Linked DNA regions of Homo sapiens: region 2 is linked to region 1. The links are contacts of gene promoters, found by promoter capture Hi-C in human tissues and cell types (Jung and others, 2019). All regions are on one chromosome and are shown on one strand. The core of a region is centred on a gene start or on the middle of the fragment in contact, and the rest is flanking DNA. Distances in the headings are between cores, read along the strand shown.

Evidence for each region. The method cuts DNA at HindIII sites, captures the fragments that hold promoters and counts their contacts. A contact is called where the count stands out against the background at its distance.
Region 2: a contact is called between a fragment that was not itself captured here and the fragment with the promoter of GALNT3 in region 1, in 2 of the 25 tissues and cell types used here (H1 embryonic stem cells and dorsolateral prefrontal cortex).

Annotation. Positions count from the first base shown.
Region 1 is chr2:165,791,532-165,797,703 of GRCh38, forward strand. It overlaps GALNT3 (polypeptide N-acetylgalactosaminyltransferase 3), which reads right to left and starts at 2,716. Exons shown (of 11, transcript NM_004482.4): 1 at 2,484-2,716. LOC124906086 reads left to right here and starts at 2,055. Exons shown (of 6, transcript XM_047446887.1): 1 at 2,055-2,261; 2 at 2,388-2,806; 3 at 3,269-3,548. The coding sequence starts at 2,055. RefSeq lists enhancers at 1,466-2,372, 2,373-3,278 and silencers at 2,349-2,438, 2,509-2,658. The HindIII fragment of the contact is 8,213 bases long and covers 1-6,172 here.
Region 2 is chr2:165,441,307-165,447,478 of GRCh38, forward strand. No RefSeq gene overlaps it. Among named protein-coding and RNA genes, the nearest start is that of CSRNP3, 25 kb to the right of the region's middle. The HindIII fragment of the contact is 4,781 bases long and covers 1-4,663 here.

The DNA.
Region 1 (6,172 bases), core at 1,466-3,965:
AGTTGAGGCAGAGAATAAATTAGTTATTGAGGATTGCAGTAAAAGGAAAAAAAAGTTTAAAGAAACTTAGTGTTAAGGAAGTGTGCTTGAAATAAAAAATCTGGAGTGTTGCAAATGGATGAAAGGCACTGGGTAGCTGCCTCATAAAATATATTTTAAGCCAATATAATAAAAAGATCAGAAGACTAAATAATGTTATCCACATTGACTTAAAAAATTAACTGTGGCTTGGAAATACCAAGAAGGAACTAAAAGTCTCAACTGACATGGCATCATCAATATGCATGCTATTCCACAATGAGAGGAGCATGATGCCTTCACTGGGTAGTTTCCACGAAGTCAGGCAATATTTGGACAAGTAGAAATGAGGGTAAATCAGAGTGAAGAAAGAGCAATGGACAATTCTGTAATTACAAAGGCCTTACAAATTATATGAAAGAAAAAAGATAAACATCTTATGGTAAGTGAGGATGTGGGTGGTGAAAAGTAAGATACAGGAGTCATGAGTCAAGCCACTGGAATGATCATGCCATCTCTGAGTGAAATGAAGTTAGAATACCTCTCTTGGCTTCAATTTTTCATAAATGGATGGTTTGAGTATTGAATCTCCAAAGTGAGAAAGGGATCTCGAGAATGCTAGGGCTGGAAGATACTCCTGATTGTTTTTAAGGTTTTGTTATCTTAATCTAGGAAAGTATTATTTTTCCTATTTAACAGATAGATTAAGTTACACTGTTACTCTAGCTAATGAAAACATGTTACATTTCTCACTAGAGGTTAAGAGGAAAGACAGTCTGGTAACATCTGCCTAGTAAGTAATGAAGACTAATATTCAAAATTCAGGGAACAACTCCTATATCTCATATTTAAACAGTATTTAGCACATTTGTTTCTCTGTATGGAGACAAGATTAAGAGGTCAGGTGAGATCCTTTTAAGAAATGTAGAAAAGTGGTGATTGAATTAATAATTACATCATGTTATGCTGTGGTTGGCTTTTAGATTTCCATCTAATCTTAAAAAGAAGAAGAAAAATAACCCCACTACATGTTGCATCAGGCATTTTAAGTAAAACGTGCAATTTAAAAAATATTTTTAAAATGTGTGGAGATAGAACAAAACAATGGAATTGTTATTATTATCAGAAACTTCTACGTAAAAATGTTGGTTAAAGCAATATATAAAGATTGATTCTCGGTACAAATTGCTTGGAAAGTTTAACATGTGCACTAGATTTCAGATATTAAAAGTTAAATTAAAAAAAAGAATCTAATGGCAGCGTGTGACTTTAACCTCATGGATTTTAGCCACAAACGCAAAGAAAAATATATACAATAAAAGAAGCAACAGATTTTCCCACAAGCAGAGATTTTCTAATTAAAATGCTGTCACTTTAATATTTTTTAGCTATAGAATTTGACTGTAAATGTCTTCATTATGTAGTGTAACTTCTATAGCAAGTTATGTTAACGTTTTCAAGAATCGGAAATATTGGTAACTCGATGGGGTTCTTAAAACAGAAATAGTTTCTTTGATGAGTTGGAAAGAGAAGGAAATAAAAGTCTAAGGTAAGCGCCAGTTTCACCCTCAATTCTTAGGCTTCAGAAAAGCCTAATTAGGCAGGGAAAGGAATCTGGGCCTGGCACACCCAAGCTTAGACGTGGCAGGATCCTGAAACAATGTTTTTTTGAACCTTTGAGTCATATGCCACAGGCAAACCATAGCCGCGATATGCAGGTCCTTAAGTCAACAGGTCCTCTAACGAGATGGTGAGTGGTTGGTGCGTGGCAGTTGGATTTCTTCCCGCCACGGAAGAAAAGAACTCTTCTCCATTGATCAGGAAAGTGGGCCCAACTCTGGCCTGGAGAGCGCACCCGGAAAAGTGCAGAGTCGAAACAGAGAGAGAGGGGTGTCCGCGTCCCGGCCACAGAGCCCTTTCCAAACCACTCGGAAACCATTTAAATGGCTCGGCGGCCGCGGTTTGCAGCCTAGAACTGTTTGGGGTCCCCGGCTAGGAAAGTTGCCTGGCAAAGCCATGTCTTTCGCTGTCGCGGGATGTCCTCTCGGGCAGAGAGGCTGGAGGAGACAGGCAACCTGCTAGCCGGAGTGGAAGCGCGCCCGCCTCCCGCCGGGCCCTCCCTCTCAGGGTCCCCACGCTGCGACCCTCCCAAGGGCAAGTCCGGGGCCACCAGGTCTTTGGTCTCCGTCCAGCTCCTCAGGGGCCGCCCCATAGGGACTGGCGGGGGCACCGTGGGCGAGAGGGTGTGACCGGGCTCCCCCCCGAGGCGCCACCTGCCCCTTGGCCCAGGGCGCCCCTTTCGGGATCTCTCCAGGGGCAACCGACACACTGCTCTCGAGACCGTCTCCAACCGGCCACCTGGACCGTAGCCCTGTCCCCAACACGTGAACCCCTGCGGCCGTCCTCCCGCCTGCTCTAACGCAGCCCAGGGGTACCGCGTCTCCCTCCGCCTGCCGCCGGCTTACCTGGCGGGTGGGCAGGGCAGGGTGGCGGGAAGCGGCGGCCGGGCAGGCGCTGGACGTGGGCTAGGCGCCAGGTGCAGGTGGCGGCGGCTGCGACTCCGGTTGCTGTCGCCACAGTTGCGGCTCAGTAGAGCTCCTCCTCCGCCGCCGCCTCCTGCCTTCCCGCTGGGCCTCCCGCGTTGCCTGGAGAGGCAGAACCGAGGCTCGGCTTCCACTTGGAGTCTCCCAGGTGAGCTCCAGCCTGCGACGTCGGCAGGGGCGAGGCCCCACTTCCGCGCCTGCGCGCCAGCCTCCCGCCCCGCCCCAGCCCTACCTGAGCGCTCCAGGTGAGAACCTTGGATCGCGCGCGCAGGGTGGGGGCGCCGTCCGGGCCAAGCCTGGCTGTCGCGCGGCTTCTCTCTGAGTGGTCGGCGAGGCTGCTGCTCCGCGCAAGTTGTGGCTCCCGGCCCATCTACATTGGAGGAATCCTGCACTGACCTGGTGGCAGTGATCACCTTGTAGCCAGAACACAGTCTGCTGGGTCCTTGGGGAACCAGAAGTTCTAGATTTCCCCCACACGGTTCCTCCCTTCCTCCTCGGTTCGCCAAAATGAAGGGGTGCGCTGCCTCCGAGGACCACTTCGGGAGGGCAGCAACTGCTGGCTCATGTGGTTTCTTCGGGCAGGGTTCAGCAGCTTCTGTCACCAGTTAGGTTTCGTGAGCTTCCTTCCCGTGTAGTCTTGATTTCATCACTTGACTCACTTCAGCGCAGCTAGTGGTTTCCGTTTCTGTACGCGGGCGCTCTGGTAGGGGCGCCTCACGTCCAAAGGAGGAGTCTTCTTCCAAAGAAGAGCCTTTGGTATTTGGCAGAGCCTCGCCAATTTGGGGCGCACCTCCCCTTCCTGGGATGCTCTCAGAAGGCAAACCAATTCCCAGAAGAGAGGGAAAAACAGCCACAACAGAGAGAACCTTTGCTGTCCCTGTTTGGAAAGAGATTGGGATTTCCTGGAGAGGGCTTGCTTCTACTGCAGGTTTGTTTAAAAGCTCAACATCTATTCTGGAAGAGAACAACGCAGACTCCAGGAAGATGGTGGGTTTTGCTGTTTTTAAGACAAAAAAAAATTGTTAAACAGTATTTGTTCCATTTATGACACAACTTTCTGTTTCAGCCTTCCTTCTGCTGCTGCAACAAACATTGACACACCCAAAACCAGGACTTAAAATGGCCTTTATACCTTTCTATGAACTCATTTCTTTGGCCCTATCCCAAAGATATCTAGGGATATAAATAGAAAACTAGCTAAAAACTTTTTGGTGTCGTGTTTAATCACATGGTGGTAGGTTTTACTATGAAGTTTAGTTGTGGCCTTCCTCCTACATTTTGACATGCTCTTATGGTGCTTATTCACTGTTTTATTAGTGCTATGCGTGACCTAAAAATAAGGTTTAAAATACAGTTTAGTATAGTATCAACAAGTGTATCTTTAGTATTTGACTACTCTAAGACATTGGTTTTAGCATCCATAGTGCTATTTTATACTAGGACATCTATGAGTTAGGGTTTAAGACTTTAGTAAACTAGGTAGTTCTTTGCTTGTTTTACATGTCATGGTTATTTTGCGAGCACCAAGGAACCTCCATGTATTTGCAACATTTTAATATCAGTACCTACAAGCAATTGCCAAGCTCCCTTTCCCTCCAAAAACAAACAAACAAAAAAATAGTTCAGGAGATACTTGTGTGTATTGATATACTAACTTGGCAGTGTTTTTCCTTAGGTCCAGGTCCAGAACTGAAAATACTAACTACTGAAATTCTCTTCTCCTTCTCCTTCTTCTTCGTTGTGCCACTTTGTCGTTTACCCCTAACCAGAGGTTAATGTTAGTCTTTGGAAAATTTGTAAGGTATCCTAAATGTATAACCAAGAAACCTGTACCCTTTTGCACGCACCACCCATCTCTGAATGAAGAGCCAAAGATTGTCAGAGTTTTGATGTCCCACCAGGCGAAGAGCAACACTTTTCACTGACAATCAGGACAGAGCAGATGGATATAGAATAACAATCTGGAATCCAAGGACTGAGATGCATTGACAGCAAGACTAGTAACGTCAAATAACAACTGAAAAGAGAAGCTAGGGTAGACCTATTAAAAGAGAGAGCCAGCAAACAGGACCAAAATGCTGGATGAGGAGTCTAAAAAGAACAGAAGAAACAAAAAAGATCAGGAGTTACTAAAATTTGACTGTCAGTTTTACAATGGAGACAGACAATTTAAAGAAGGAAGCAGTTTTTCTGAGTGTGGCATTACTTGTGCACGTTGAGTGTCATATATATAGAGAGAGAGAAAGAGAGAGAGTGAGAGAGAGTGAGAGAGAGAGAGAGAGAGATATCTTGGGGATGAGACCTGTCTAAACACAAAATTCATTTATGTTTCATATACACCTTATACACATAGCCTTAAGGTAATTTTATAAAACATTGTAAATAATTTTATGCATGAAACAAAGTTTGTGTAAAGTACTTATGTGTGGAATTTTCAACTTGTGGTGTCATGTTGGTGCTCAAAAAGTTTTGAATTTTGGAACATTTCAGATTTTGGATCTGTGGATTAGGGATGCTCCACCTGTACTATTTTACACAACGTTGCTTGTACTATTTCAAAGCATTCTGAAAGCAAAGTCTTAATATTAATAAAAAATTTTCTATGTGACAATAAAATTAAAATGCTGCAGGCCCAAGAAAAAAATATTATCATATTGAAATATTTAATGCCCCAAATCTAATCAGATGCAGGTTTTTGAAAGTACCATCCTATTCAAAATTATGAAATAAAGAATTTGTTTCATAAAGAGAAATTAGCATTTCATCATAAATAAAATCCAGGAACCTTAGTGTAGACATGCTTCAGAAATAAGCTAATTTTAATAGTATATGTTTGACATATAATGACAGTTAAGATAGAAAACTGGGCAGATTTTACACAGGAAGGAAACAAACATTCTCTCTCTCTCTCTCTCACACACACACACGTACTTATTACACACACACACACACACACACACACACACACACGACTAGCCACAAAATGCTCATTTGCATGGATTTGAAACAATACTCACTCCTTAATACTTTCTGTTAACATTTAAATTAATGCCAAGACCAGCACCTGGCACTTAGTAGGTACTTAATAAATATGTGTTAAATGAATAAATTGACCCATCAAGTACCATAAAAAAAATGCCTAGTGTCTTGAGCAATTTACAGGTCTAAAGAATGGTTTTACCCAACAGTAATGACAAATAATCCAAGGCAGATAAGAACACTAGACTGGTAATCTGAATTGCAAAGTTCTAAGAACAATAGCTACCAGCTTTCACATACCTACATTTCAAAAGACACTACGCAAAACAACTTACACTCCTACAAATTACTTTACATCTGGCTTAAATATTCTCTTCCACAAAACAAAATAGTGGTACAAGATGATCTACAGGCTTCTTTACATTCTGATTCATATAAACTCTATGCCAAGAGAATTGGGCAAATAAATAAATAAATAAATGAAACCTTCTGGATATAGCAATAATAATTAATGGGACAGCAAAGATGAAGAAACTGAAATTATTTAGCTGAGATCGAAATTTTAATTCATAAAAAATAGTTGTAATATATAATGTAACAAGTAAATGTGTAAAGTTACTAAGCCTAACTTT
Region 2 (6,172 bases), core at 1,023-3,522, 350 kb before region 1:
TTGAGACCAGTCTGGGAAACATGTGAGACCCCACCTTTACCAAAAGTTTAAAAAAAAAAGAATGGGGTATGGTGGCACGCACCTGTTGTCCTAGCTACTTGGAAGGCTTAGGCAGGAGGATTGCTTGAGCTCAGGAGTTTGAGGCTACAGTGAACTATGATCCCACCACTGTACTCCAGCTTGGATGACAGAGCAAGACCCTGTCTCTAAAAAAGGTGGGAAGATCACCTGAGGCCAGGAGTTCGAGACCAGCTTGGGCAACATAATGAGACCACATCTCTATTTAAAAAGTAAATTTTAAAAATAAAAAAATATAAAATTTGGTAACTCTTTCTGCTTTGGTATTATTTTCGATTCCACATCGTCTGGTAAATACTGTGGTGGTGTTTGTATGTTTTCTCACCTTCCACCCCTCTGAAATTATGGATCAAAACAAATTATGGATCAAAAACAAAAACAAAAAAATTCTTTCAAGTATTATTCATAACACACTGAAATCATATTCTGGTTGGTTTATGATCTATGGGAGAATAAACATCTTTCAAACAGAGGTATTTTAAATTATGGTAACTACTTTCAGTGCTAGGCCCCATGAAGCCTGGGAGAAAGCACAATGTTCATCCAGTAAGCTATGAAACCTCGTTTCATTTCTTTTACACAAACAGTGAGTAGGCAGGGGCTCTATTTTCTACTTATCTTCACAATACTTAATTTTTTATCTTAGAATAATTTTGATTAATTATAATCATATACATGCATTTCAATAACAGGCTTTTTTTTTCATTTTAGTCAATATTTTTATTTTTTGAATTGTGCTATTTGGCATAATGGTGAAATTTTGAATTTCTTTAAAACTGTTTGGAAAATAATTTTTTTTCCATTATTTCATTGGCAAGCTTCTCTGAATTACAGACCAAATAATTATTGTATTTGATAATTTTCTTTTTGCCTCCTTTTGCTTTGCATTAGTGGTATGTGTACTTGTATTATTCTCCCATCATAGATTTTGTGCCTCCAGAAGCCCAATATTATTTTCTTGGTTTGTCTTTGTATCCCTTCTAGTACCTTGTAAGTGTGTATTAATGCTTGTTATAATCAATTGAATAAAACCACTTTATCCCCTGTAAATTCAAACTATAGTACCACAATTTGTAAGCCTAATGCTTAAACCATAGCTTGCAGGTTTAAGCAATACATATTATATATATACACACACATAAATATGATATACATATATATTATCCTTAGGATTTGAATTGAATGGATGCTAACCTGGTACTATTTTATACATTTTTGAATTTTCAAATATTCTAAAATTAATATGGATGAGTTTTTATAATTTGAAAGAGAACAAATCTAAATTTTAAAAATAACTGGGCGTGGTGGCTCATGCCTGTAACCCCAGCACTTTGGGAGGCTGAGGTGGGAAGATCACTTGAGCTCAGGAGTTTGAGACCAGCCTGGGCAACATAGTGAGACCACATCTCTCTTAAAAAATAAGTAAATAAATTTAAAAAATAACAAAAATAAAATTTAGTAGCTATTTTTCTGCTTTGGTGTTATTTTCAATTCCACATCATCTGGTAAATATGATGGTAGTGTTTGTATGTTTTCTCACCCTCCACCCCCTCTGAAATTATGGATCAAATTTTGAAAGGATTAAATCTGCTTATTCAAGAGAGATTTTACATCCATACCCTGTCAGAGAGTCAGAGAGGAAGTCTAGAATTCCCCTCTTTCTTTATTCTGTTCTATCCCTTTACATCCTCCTCCGCTTATCTCAGCAGTACGTGTTAGGCTTTTAGGAAAAAGAGAACCATAGGATTTCAGAATTGGAAGAGATAGAAGAAGTTATTAGATTATAGATTTCTAGCACAATTTCTAGTGCTCCTGGGGCCACGCAACACTACAATTCATGGACTTGCTGTGGCTTCTGATGTCTTAGAGAGCACAATCCCTGTCTAAAGAGGATGAGCAGTAAAGACTCAGCTCCAGCTAATTGTTGCCAAGGGAGAATGTAGGCCAGATCTACCAATGTTTAAAAGAGAATCCAGAAATGGGCTTTTATATAAACATTCTAATTTTTAAATGTTGGCCACAGATGCATACAAAAAAGCACTGCCGGTCAAATAAAACATATCTGCAGGACAAAATTAGCCAATGAGATAACAGTTTCCCAAGAATGGTTAGACCAAACTCTTATTTCACAGATGAAGGAACTAAAGTTCAAACTGACATAAAAGCTTGCCTAAAATCATCCTGGATATCAAACAAACATTTCAGTGCTCTTCAATCTTAGATGTTTGTGATTTGATGTAGCTATTTCCTTAACAAGTCAGGAGGGAAGTTTGAAAGCACATCCTGTGTGAGGATGAAGTGTCTGGGAGTTGTTTCACAGCTTTGATCATGTAATGAAAGCATTTGTGTTTATGGGTCAGGAAGTGACAAGAAGGTTTTGTTTGAGTAGGTGGTAAGGTCTGACACCTGAGAGGCAGGCAGTGTAATAATATCTAATTGCAATACAATATTCAGCTTTCAGGTAGGGTTTTGCTAATGGAAGAGAATCGGTATATTCTGTATTTCTTCTACCAGATTATTATCTGATGAATGCCTTAGAGACTACCCGTAATTCAGAGAGAGAGAGAAAATTACATAAGCAAATTGCAAGAATAATCTCTTTCCTTGTGCTTATATTATTACATTGCATTTTGCTTTCTGCATTTAAAGCACCCTTTTTCTAAAGACTCAAGAAACTTTTAATAGACCTTTGTTAGTATAAACCAGATCATTCTTATGAGAAGTAAACTTCCTATAGGCATACTTCATTTTATTGTGCTTCATTTCTATTGCATTTTTTAACAAATTGAAGGTTTGTGGTAACAAATAGCATATGCTCACTTTGGGTCTCTGTGTCACATTTTGGTGTTTCTGGCAATATTTAGGCTCTTTCATTATTACTATATCGGTTATGGTGATCTGTGGCCGTTGATCTATGAAGTTACTATTGTAATTGTTTTGGACACCACAAACCATGCCCATGGAAGACAGCAAAGTGAATCCAGAAAGGTGTGTGTTTTTACTGCCCCACTGACTGGCCCTTCTCCCATCTCTCTTCCTCTCTTCAGCCTCCCTGTTCTCTGAGACACAATAATGTTGAAATGAGGCCACAGTGGCTTATAAGTGTTCAAGTGAAAGGAAGAGTTGCATGTCTCTTACTCTAAATCAAAAGCTAGAAAAGATGAAGCTTAGTGAAGATGGCAGTGTGGAAAGCCAAGATAGGCCAAAAGCTAGGCCTGTTGTGCCAAGCAGTTAGCCAAGTTGTGAATGCAAAGGAAAAGTTCCTGAAGGTAATTAAAAGTACTACTCCAGCGAGCACATGAATAATAACGAAGCGAATAAATAAATACAAAGCGAAACAGCTTTATTGCTGATACGGAGGAAGTTGTAGTTGTCTAGATAGAAGATAAAACAGCCACAACATTCCCTTAAGCCAAAGCCTAAACTGGAACAAGGCCCTAAGTCTCTTCAATTCTGTGAAGGCTGAGAGAGGCGAGGAAGCTGCAGAAGAAAAGTTGGAAGCTAGCAGAAGTGGGTTCATGAGGTTTAAGGAAAGAAGCTGTCTCTATACCATAGAAATGCAAGGGGAAGCAGCAAGTGTTGATGGAGGAGCTTCAGCAAGTTATCCAGAAGATCTAGCTAAGACCATTGATGAAGGTGGCTACACTAAACAACAGATTTTCAATGTAGATGAAACAGCCTTCTGTTGGAAGAAGATGCCATCTAGGACTTTCACAGCCAGAGAGAAGTCAATGCCTGGCTTCAAATCTTCAAAGGACAGGTTGACTCTCTTACTAGGAGTTAGTATAGCTGGTGACTTTAAGATGAAATTAGTACTCATTTGTCATTCCCCAAACCTAGGGCCCTTAATAATTATACTAAATTTACTCTACCCAGACTCTATAATTGGGACAACAAAGCCTGAATGACAACACATCTGTTTACACATGTTTTACTGAATATTTTAGGCTCATATTGAGACCTACTGCTCAGAAAAAAAAGATCTCTTTCAAATATTACTGCTTATTATCAATGCACATAGTCACTCAAGAGCTCTGATGGAGATGAACAAGATTAATGTTGTTTCATGCCTGCTAACACAACATACATTCTGCAGCTCATGACTCAAGAAGTAATTTTGACATTCAAGTGTTACTCTTAAGGAAACACAGTTTGTAAGGCTACAGCTGCCATAAATAGTGATTCCTCTAATGGAACTGGGGTAAACAAATTGAAAGTCTTCAGGAAAAAATTTCACCATTCTACAGACCATTAAGAACATTTGTGATTCGTGGGAGGAGGTCAAAATATCAACATTAATGGGAGTCTGGAACAAGGAGATTCCAAACTTTGAGAGGCAACTTTAGATCAATAGATGACTTTAAGGGGTTCAAGACTTCAGTGGAGGAAGTAACTGCAGATGTACTGGAGATAGGAAAAGAACTAGATTTAGAGGCAGAGCCTAAAGTGTGACTATATTGTTGCAATCTCATGATATAACTTGAACGGATGAGGAGCTGCTTCTTATGGATGAGCAAAGAAAGTGGTTTTCTGAGATGGAGACTACTCCTGATGCAGATGCTGTGAATACTGTTGAAATGACAACAAATGACTTGAAATATTACAGAAACTTAGTTTGTAAAGCGGTGGCAAATTTGAGATGATTGACTCCAAATTTGAGAGAAGTTCCACTGTGGGCAATGCTATAAAATAGCATCACATTTGATAGCACTGCAGAGAAGAGAATAGCTTATCAAGGTGGCAAACTTCAATGTTTTCTTGTCATAAGAAATTGCCACAGCCACCAAAACCTTACCCCACCACCACCCTCATCAGTCAGCAGTCACCAACATTGAAGCAAGACCTTCTACCAGCAAAAAGTTTAAGACTTGCTGAAGGCTTAGATAATCATAAGCATTTTTTTTAGCAAGAAAGTATTTTCAATTAAGATATGTACATTGATTTTGTAGACATAATGCTATTGCATATTTAATAGACTATAGTGAGGTATAGATGTAGCTTTTATATGCATTGAGAAACAAATTCATGTGACTTGCCTTATTGTGATATTTGCTTTATAGCAGCAGTCTGGAACAGAACACACAGTATCTCTGAAGTGTCTGTATTTCCTCAGTTAATGTTTTGGCCACTGATGAGATTTTATATTCCGATGATCCAGCAGGCATCGCTCCTTGTTTCAGAAACTACACAAAATTGGAAACAGAATCAACCAGGCAAAAGATGACTAAAATCTGCAGAGGGAAGTATGGCTGGTAAGATTAGAGAGGACCTAAACCATACAATATATCACAAGGTGCACTTCAAGGGTGTAATTAAGATGACTCTCTACATAGGTGATTCTTAGCCCAGATCATCTAGGAAACTGAAACAAATACCAGTGCTCAATCAACGGCCAGAGATTTCTACTGAATTACTCTGGGAGGTGGGCACACAGACATCTTAGCCAGTTTATCTCCACATAGTGGTAATAACACATGATGAAAATATGGTGGAAATAGTAATAGGTCCAGAAGTGGACTAAGTCCTCCTCTAAATCCCCACACCAGGCCCTGTAATGCATTCCAGGATATCCAGAATCAAGATCTCATGAAGAACAACCAATCCATCTCAGTCCCATATTGCCATGCTGACAACTGAAGAGAGAATCTATAAAGCCTTAGCTAATTGCATTCTAAGTGCCAAAGATGGTTTAGTTCATAACCACCATCCAGGTGTCAATTTTCCTTGTTCTGTGGCAGGGCTGCTAGGTAAAGTGGCCTGGGTCTCTAAAACTAAAGATTCTTCAATTTTCTCAAAGCTCAGATGTAAGAAGTAGAGGAGATAGGAGCATTGATGGAACCAGGAACCACTTGCTGGACATGCTGAAAAAGATGGTCAGAGTAGAGCCTAGTATAAGATCATTCCAGAGACAACACCAGAATTTGTACATGGTGGGAATGGGAATAGTCCTTCAAAAACTGTCTTAATGTTATAATTGCATAGCAAAAAACACTCCCTAGACAAAGCTTTTTTTGCAATACAAGAAATTATGGAGGCATGAGAGGCTGATACAGATTATGGGGTAAACCACACATCTGAGCCCTCTATTTGTGAT